Regions from separate parts of the Homo sapiens genome. Here regions 2 and 3 are each linked to region 1. Evidence: promoter capture Hi-C in 16 types of primary human blood cells and fetal thymus (Javierre and others, 2016). All regions are on one chromosome and are shown on one strand. Each heading gives the region's core, a stretch centred on a gene start or on the middle of the fragment in contact. The rest is flanking DNA. Distances are from core to core; before and after follow the strand shown.

What was found. The method cuts DNA at HindIII sites, captures the fragments that hold promoters and counts their contacts. A CHiCAGO score of 5 or more calls a contact.
Region 2: a contact is called between a fragment that was not itself captured here and the fragment with the promoter of RAD21L1 in region 1, in 1 of 17 cell types (total CD4 T cells). The highest score is 5.0, in total CD4 T cells.
Region 3: a contact is called between a fragment that was not itself captured here and the fragment with the promoter of RAD21L1 in region 1, in 7 of 17 cell types (naive CD4 T cells, activated CD4 T cells, non-activated CD4 T cells and 4 more). The highest score is 11.1, in naive CD4 T cells.

Annotation. Positions count from the first base shown.
Region 1 is chr20:1,224,759-1,227,307 of GRCh38, reverse strand. RAD21L1 (RAD21 cohesin complex component like 1) reads right to left here and starts at 1,264. Exons shown (of 14, transcript NM_001384355.1): 1 at 1,168-1,264. RefSeq lists a silencer at 1,003-1,052. The HindIII fragment of the contact is 7,037 bases long and covers 1-2,549 here.
Region 2 is chr20:1,455,462-1,458,010 of GRCh38, reverse strand. The region is part of intron 3 of NSFL1C (NSFL1 cofactor); the gene reads left to right. Among named protein-coding and RNA genes, the nearest start is that of NSFL1C, 10 kb to the left of the region's middle. The HindIII fragment of the contact is 4,620 bases long and covers 1-2,549 here.
Region 3 is chr20:1,437,267-1,439,815 of GRCh38, reverse strand. No RefSeq gene overlaps it. Among named protein-coding and RNA genes, the nearest start is that of NSFL1C, 28 kb to the left of the region's middle. The HindIII fragment of the contact is 1,926 bases long and covers 306-2,231 here.

The DNA of each region.
Region 1 (2,549 bases), core at 15-2,514:
CTTTTTAGTCTGTGTGTTTCGCTCTCTCGGAATAAATTCCTATTTATCTTTTTAAATGGCTCCCAGTGGTGTGAGGTACTTTTAAAATGTACTTTTTGGCCTGGCGCAGTGGCTCACGCCTGTAATCCCAGCACTGTGGGAGGCTGAGGCGGGCGGATCACTTTGATGCCAGGAACTGGAGACCAGCCTGGCCAACATGGTGAAACCCCGTCTCTACTAAAAGTACAAAAAGTAGCCAGGCACGGTGGCGGGCGTCTGTAATCCCAGCTACTTGGGAGGCTGAGGCAGGAGAATCGCTCGAACCCGGGAGACGGAGGCTGCAATGAGCCGCGATCGCCCTACTGCACTCCAGCCTGGGCGACAGAGGGCGACTCCGTCTCAAAAAAATCAAATGTACTTTTTAAGTGATGGACTTCTTAAAAGAGAAAACAAACAAAGAAAAAACCCAAACCCTGAGATTTGCTATTCCTGAGACATTGATTTTCCCGAGCACATATTACCTAACCTTTTTCCCCTCCCCACAAAATACGCACACAAACTCCCCCCGCACCCTCCCGCCCCACGTCCCGGAGGCTTTTTCAGTCTCCAGATTGAACTGACTTCGTGCAACGTGAAGCCACCGGGATGGGGCCACTCCGTGGAAACCGGCCCGCAAAGGGCAGGGTGGCGGCGGTGGCGGGGAGGGAGCGAAGGGAGGGAGGAAGGGGTCGGAAGGGGACCGGGCGGGGACCCTGGGAGAGGGGCGTGGGGAGAGAGGGCTGAGCCGGGCAGGGCGAGACCCTTCCGGGCGTGAGGGAGGGGAAAGCAAAGTGCAGGGGCTGGGAAGAGCTGACGGCCACGCTCAGGGGCAGGGGGACGCCAAAGGCTCCTCCACAGACGACTCCTCAGAGTTCCGGGCCGGGTGCTCACAGAGGGAAACTGAGGCCACAGCGCCCATTTTCTTCCGCGTGCGGGCGAGGAGACCCCGGGTCGCGCCTCCAGCCCCAGCTGGGCTGCGGGCGACGACCTTTCTTCCTCAGGCGGGACCCTCCGGGCTTGGCGCCGCGAGCTAACACGGCGTGAGGCGCCGGCGCCGGGTGCGTGTGGGAATGTGGGTGGCGGCGGCCCCCATCTCCCAGCCCGCCTACAGCACTCGGGGTCCGGCCGGCCTCTCAGGCTGCGCCCTACTTTCAAAGCCTCGTCTGAGGTGTGGCGTGCCAGAGCAGGGGCTGCGAGGAGTCGCCAAGTCAGCTTGGCCGGGTTCTTGGCGCCGCTGGGCGTCTGCAATGCGCGGCAGGCGCGGGGCGGGGAGGGGCGGGGCGTGGAGAAGGCGGGGCAGTGGGCGAGGGCGGGGCGTGCAGGGGACGGGGCGGAGCAGTGGGCGAGGGGCGGGGCGTGCAGGGGACGGGGCGGGGCAGTGGGCGAGGGCGGGGCGTGCAGGGGACGGGGCGGGGCGTGCAGGAGACGGGGCGGGGCAGTGGGCGATGGACGGGACTGACAGGGGATGGGGCGGGGCAGTGGGCGAGGGGCGGGGCGTGCAGGGGATGGAGAGGGACGGGCAGGACATGGGGAGGGGCGTGGAGGGGTATGGACGGGCGGGGCGGGGCAGTGGCTGAGGGACCGGGGGCAGGGGGCGGGGAAGGGCGGGCCAGCGACCGAGGGACTGGGCGCGGCGGCGGCGGCGGCGGCTGGGGGTACGGACAGAGTAGGGCAGTGCGCTAGAGTGGAGAGGACCGGGACTGAGAGGGACGAGGGCGCAGGGCGTTGGTGGGGACAGTGGACGGGGCAGGAGGGATAGAGTCAGACAGTGAGCAAGGCGCACCGGTCCTAGTGCGCAGTCTCCGGCTTTGTCCTGGCGCTCGGACCTGAGACACCTGAGCAGGGGCATGACAGGGATGGGGCCTGGGCCCCATAGTCCTGTTGTGAAAGGTGATCTTTCTGGCTGATCTCTGAACATCCCTATGATGCAGTCCAGTCTCTTCTCTTCCACTTATAGCTGGAGGTCACTGGAGAAATTCTTTAATCCCTTGAACCTCAGATTTTCTCATCTGTAAAGTGAAAATAATAAAAGTACTCGCGCCGTAGGATATTGTAAGAAATAAATAAAATGAACCATGAAAAGAGCCAAGCAATAATAAGTGCTCTACAAATATTAGCTATTATTATTATTGTTATTATTAAAAAGATTATTCACATTGACCTGCCCTTTGGGGACAGCAAATATTTTCCAGCCTGGAATATCACAGTTCTCAGTAGTCAAGGCCAAGTGCTAGAACCTGAGAAAAATCCTGCAAGAGCATCAGGATGCAAGGCTGGTTTCCTCTCTTGAGTTTGATAGTAAATACTAATAAATCTTGGAGCGGCAATGGCATCCAATATAAGGTTATTGATAAGGTTCAGGCTCCTGGCTGGGCATTTTCATGGGTTGTCTCATTGACTCTTCAAACAATCTCACAAAAGTAGTTACTGGTTTTCCCCTTTTGAATAAGGAAAGGGCTGGAGAAAAAATAGCAACCTGTCTAGGGTCACGTGGTTGGGAATTGTAGAGACAGGATTCAAATTGAATTCAA
Region 2 (2,549 bases), core at 29-2,528, 230 kb before region 1:
GTTACTTAATGTATTTATTGAGGAATATTAGGGGAGGGAAACAAGGAAAAGATCTAGCAGTCCCACTTTTTGGTATTGACTAAAAAGATTTGAAATCAGTTTGTAAAGAGGTGTCTACGTTCCCGTGCTCATTGCGGTGCTCTTCACAGTAGCGAAGTTATGGATCAGCATAAGTGTCTTACCAGCAGATGAATGGATAAAGCAAATGTGGTGTATATACACAGTAGGAATACTACTCAGTCTTTAAAAAGAAGGAAATTGTCATTTTCAACAACATGGATAGAGAACATTATGCTAACTAAAATAAGCCAGGCACAGAAACACAAATAAAGCATGCTCTCGTGTGGAATCTAGAACAATTCCAATCTAGAACAATCGACAGAGTGTGGTTACAGAGGCAGAAGTGAGGGCATAATGGGGAGATGGTGGTCAAAGGGTATAAAATCTTAAGACAGGAGGAATATGGTTTGGGGCTTTTTCTTTTTTAGATCTCTTGCACAGCATGATGAATATAGTTAATAAAACAGCATTGTACATTTCAAAATTGCCAAGTGTTAATTTCAAGTGTTCTCACCACAAAAATTTTGAGTATTTGAGGTGATGAATATGCTAACTAGCTTGATTTAATCCACTTCATATTGTTAAAGCATAACATCACTTTGTACACCATAAGTATATACAATTATAAATTGCCAATTTACAATTTTAAAAAATAAGGAAAAGAAAGAAAAAGTTATTCATTATATTACAGTCCATACGTAACCAGGTATCCATTTTTTGGTATATTTCTTTCCAGCTTTTTCTTTTTAATTTAAAAAACATCATGTAAAAAACAGAATAATAGGCTTATAAGTGTATATTTCCCCCAATAGACATGTACCCATCAACTATTTGTTTTTAACCTTTAGAACATTATAATAAAAATATCCATTATGGAAACTACAGACTAGTATAATGAAAAAGTCTTAAACTCATCTACCCTTTGGTAACTACGGTTGATATTCTGGCATATTTCCATCCAGTCTTTGTTCTGTATATAAATATGGTTTTGCTGGATCAATGCTACATCTCAGACGTTTCCCCATGTCCTTAAAATCCTTCATATGCCTTTTCATATGCTATAATAATAATCCATTATATGGGATGCCTGACATTTAGATTTTTTTCAATGTTTTACTACTGTAAATATCAGTGCTATGAACATTTTTGTGGATTAATTAACCACATTTCAGATTTTTTTTAGGATAGTTTTTAAAAATGGAAATACCAGGTCAAGGGCATGCATATTTTTAAGGCTCTTGATCACAGGCTCCCAGTTCTGAAGCCAGGGCTTTGAGATCCCTTAATAAAGACTTTATAGTCCATTTAGCAGAACTTCATCTACCTGGAATGAACAAGAATGAACGCCAGCCTCATTTCATGGGTTTTGGTTCTCCACAGGATCTGCCTCGGTCTGTCAGACATTCCTAAGGAAAATTGTATAATAACTATTTCGGGAATGCAGTTATCTCATCATGGTCAGTCTTTGGGGAAGTGGGCTGAGAAATTACATGTGTTCTATTCTCTATTTTCATTCCTATTGTGACCTTCACACCGACTCAAAACCTTCCTTTTAGATACTTCTGGATATAAAAATATATGTTAATTTTGGGGTTTCACACTCCTGAGTGAAAGGCAGTGTCATCAAGTACGTGAATGCCCAGCTCCTAAATGTCTTTCTCGTTCTCCTCCCACCCAGTCACGTCCTCCAGGCAGTGACCTTCCTTTATTTCACATTCCGCTTACTTCCTTGACCCCTCAGCATTTCAGACCTGAAAGGACACTGGTACTGTTGTCCTTGTCGGGGCCTGTGGCTTTGCCTCTCATTCCCTGGTGAATGTCAGGAAATAGAGGGCTGAGACTAATTTTTATAGGTTCTCAATTTTTCTTGCTTGGGGACAAGCTGTTGACTTAGCTCTGAATAGGAGTAATAAGGAGGCAGTGGGCCAGGCTGCATGACAACTGGTTTTCAGGCCCATATAAAAAAGTACTAACTTTATTATCTCAAGCCATGCCTGGCCTATTGCAAAGCCCAGTGTGGGTGTCTTGGGGCTTGTATTTGAGATTGGAGCTTCTCTGACCTCCAGTACCCTTTCCTCAGGGGCCACAGTGTGTGTCACATGAATGGCAAGGTGAGGTGAGGCTTGGGGGAGCTCCTGGTGCTGTGTCACACCACCTTACCTGTGTGCATTACTCTGTGCTTGTTCTTTTGCATACATCTGCTGATTTGAACCTCACGGCTCTGACTTAAGGAGCAGGTAGGTAGGGCATGTGGTCCTTCCCTCCCGTTTCAAAGACAAGGAAAGTGAGTCACAGAGTAGTGCACTGGCTTACCCAGGACATACAGTGGCAGAGCCAAGACTGGAGCCTAGCTGCTTGTACTAACCATGCCAGTGCCACCATTAACCCCAAGTCACTAGTGGTAGCTACTTCTGACTATGACTGTAGTCACTGTCTCCTGGAGAGGAGCCTGGCCACCAGATTGATAGTCCCAGCTGAGACTCTCTCCT
Region 3 (2,549 bases), core at 19-2,518, 210 kb before region 1:
TCCCCAACTACCTGAACGCAGAGCCACAGCCCTTGACCCCGAGGCTCTACTGCTGTGAAAAAGGCAGGCACAAAGGCAGTGGCAGGAGGGACGATTGGGTCGGGCAGGGAGGGACAGGGAAAACGGAAGCGGACACCCTTGAACTGGGTTGTGAAGGGTGATTAAAGGTTGGTTCTCTGACGAAAAGGCAAAAAAGTTGTCCTTCCTCAAGAGACAAACTCAGAGGGCATGTGGAGGCTTGGGGCAGGCTTTGAACTTAGGTTCCATCTTATACCAGGCATGACCTTAGACAAGTCACCTAAGCTTCTCTGAGCCTTGGCTTCCTCATTCAGAAAACAGGGATAATGGTAGTTCCTACCTCTTAGACTATGGGGATTAAAGATGTCTGTGAAGCCCTTGACGCATAGGAGGAACTTTATGAATGACAATAGGTGCTGCTGTGTAGCCCTTACCATGTGCCGGGCGCTGTCAAACACTTGAGCATGATCTCATTAATTCTCAACACTCCTGTGAAACAGGTGCTTTTATTATTCACATCTTTACAGAGAATGAAATTGAGTGCCTTGCACGTGGTAGACAACCTGGCCATTAAACGTCTATTGGTTAAATGATCGGAGAATCAGAGAGGAGAAAGCAGTCAAGGACACACTACTAATAAATGACAACTGAGTTTGAACCAAGGGCCATCTAACTCCATCCTCCTGGCCTGGCCTCTGTACCATGAGCTTATTTTAAGTCAGCTCTGGGTGAACCACCTGCAGCAGGAAAAGCTCAGGCTTAGGAGTCAGCCTGCTGGGTACTAGCTGTGTGGCCTCGGCAGGTTCCTTAGTTTGATCATCCATGTGACAATATACTAAGATGGAATTATTTCCATCCCAATTTGGCTGGGTTCCCAAGGCAATAGGGGGCCTAGCTACTCCACCTCCCAGGATGAATTGCTGTCCACACACAGGGCTTTCAAAGACATGGTCAAAAACTAGCTGTGTGTCTCCTTGCCTCTTTCCCACACCAAAGACGTTAAAGGTTCAAGTTGGAGCTCTGAGAAGAGTTTTCTTTAAAGGAAGTTACTGGAGGGCTTTGAGTGCACAGGGGAAGGGGGAGCTTTCCTTCTCCCTCAGCCTAGGGATTGGTGTCTCAAGGAGACCACTCAAGAGCTTGGAGATGACGAAGGTGCCAGGCACCCACCTCACACCTGAGCAATCTTGAAAGCAAGAGGCTGATGAAGCAAAGAGAACTTGGTGTGAAGGAGCTTGTGCTATAAGTCCCATCAGCCAAATGTGGACCCATGAGGCAGCCAGACTGGACTGTCCTGGGTCTTGCTCTGGAAGGACAGAGGGACCTTAGTGCAAGATAGACCTTGGGTTGCAGGACTGAGGGAGGAGTTACAAGCAGCCAGCTAGAGAATCTATTGGCTTCCTCAAGGGAAGTGAACCAAGATCTGAAGAACCAACAAGTGCACCCTAGAGGGAAGCCCAGAGCATCTGCACCGGCCACAGGAAACCAGCAGGCCCTTCCCCATGTCCCCTGCGACCCTGCCCCTGAGAGAGGGAAGAAGCTGTACTTCTAAATGAAGTTCAAAATCTTGACTATGACCTGGGAATGGCCTTTTTAAAAAAAATTACTTTTAAATAGGTAATATATTTACATGGTGCCAAAAAATGTCTTAGATACCTCCCTTCTTATCCATGCCATTTGCCCAATTTCCCCTCCCTCCCTCCCTCCCCACTATAAGTTTCTTAGTTGTCCTTGCAGAGTTCCTAAATACAAGCCGATACTCTCTGTCTATTCTGAGGCATCCATTGTTTCCCATATTTTAGCAACTCTGAAATCAGAATGCATCATACAAGAAGGCAGTCCTGGTGTCACCTAATACCTTAACATATTTATTTTGTCTATATGTTTCCTTTTTATTTGTGCCCAAAGTTGATATGATATAAATTCATGTCTAAATAAGTCTAAATGAGTTCTCAAATATAAAATTCTAAGCATTGTGCCAATTTAATCAGCAATGGTCTTTCTTAGTGGCATATAAATTAATGGTGGCTTTGTCACTCCTGGCATCTTAGATCCAATAGATCTGCAGCGATTCTTATTCACAAGTGTGTCAGCCTGCCCACCACTATCTACATCTTTTTCCATTTAACAGTAGATTTTGGAGGTCATTTGTTGTGAAGGACATGTGGGTGTCTCCTGGGTTTTGCTGTTACAAACAGTACTACAGTGGCAAAGCTTGTATATGCAAATGTGTAAAGAGTAAATTCCCAGATGTGTAAGTGCTATTTACTCTTGCACCCGCAGTGGACTTGAGAGCCTGTTTTCCCACAGATTCGCCAGCAGGGTGCGCTGTGAGCATTTGCCTGTCAGGTAAGTGAGCAGTGGATTCACAGTGTGGTTTTGTTTGCATTAATACCAGTTGTTGTTGTTGTTGTTTTGTTGTTGTTGTTGTTGTTGTTTGAGACAGAGTCTCACTCTGTTGCACAGGCTGGAGGGCAGTGGTGCGATCTTGGCTCACTGCAACCTCTGCCTCCTGGACTCAAGAGATTCTTCTG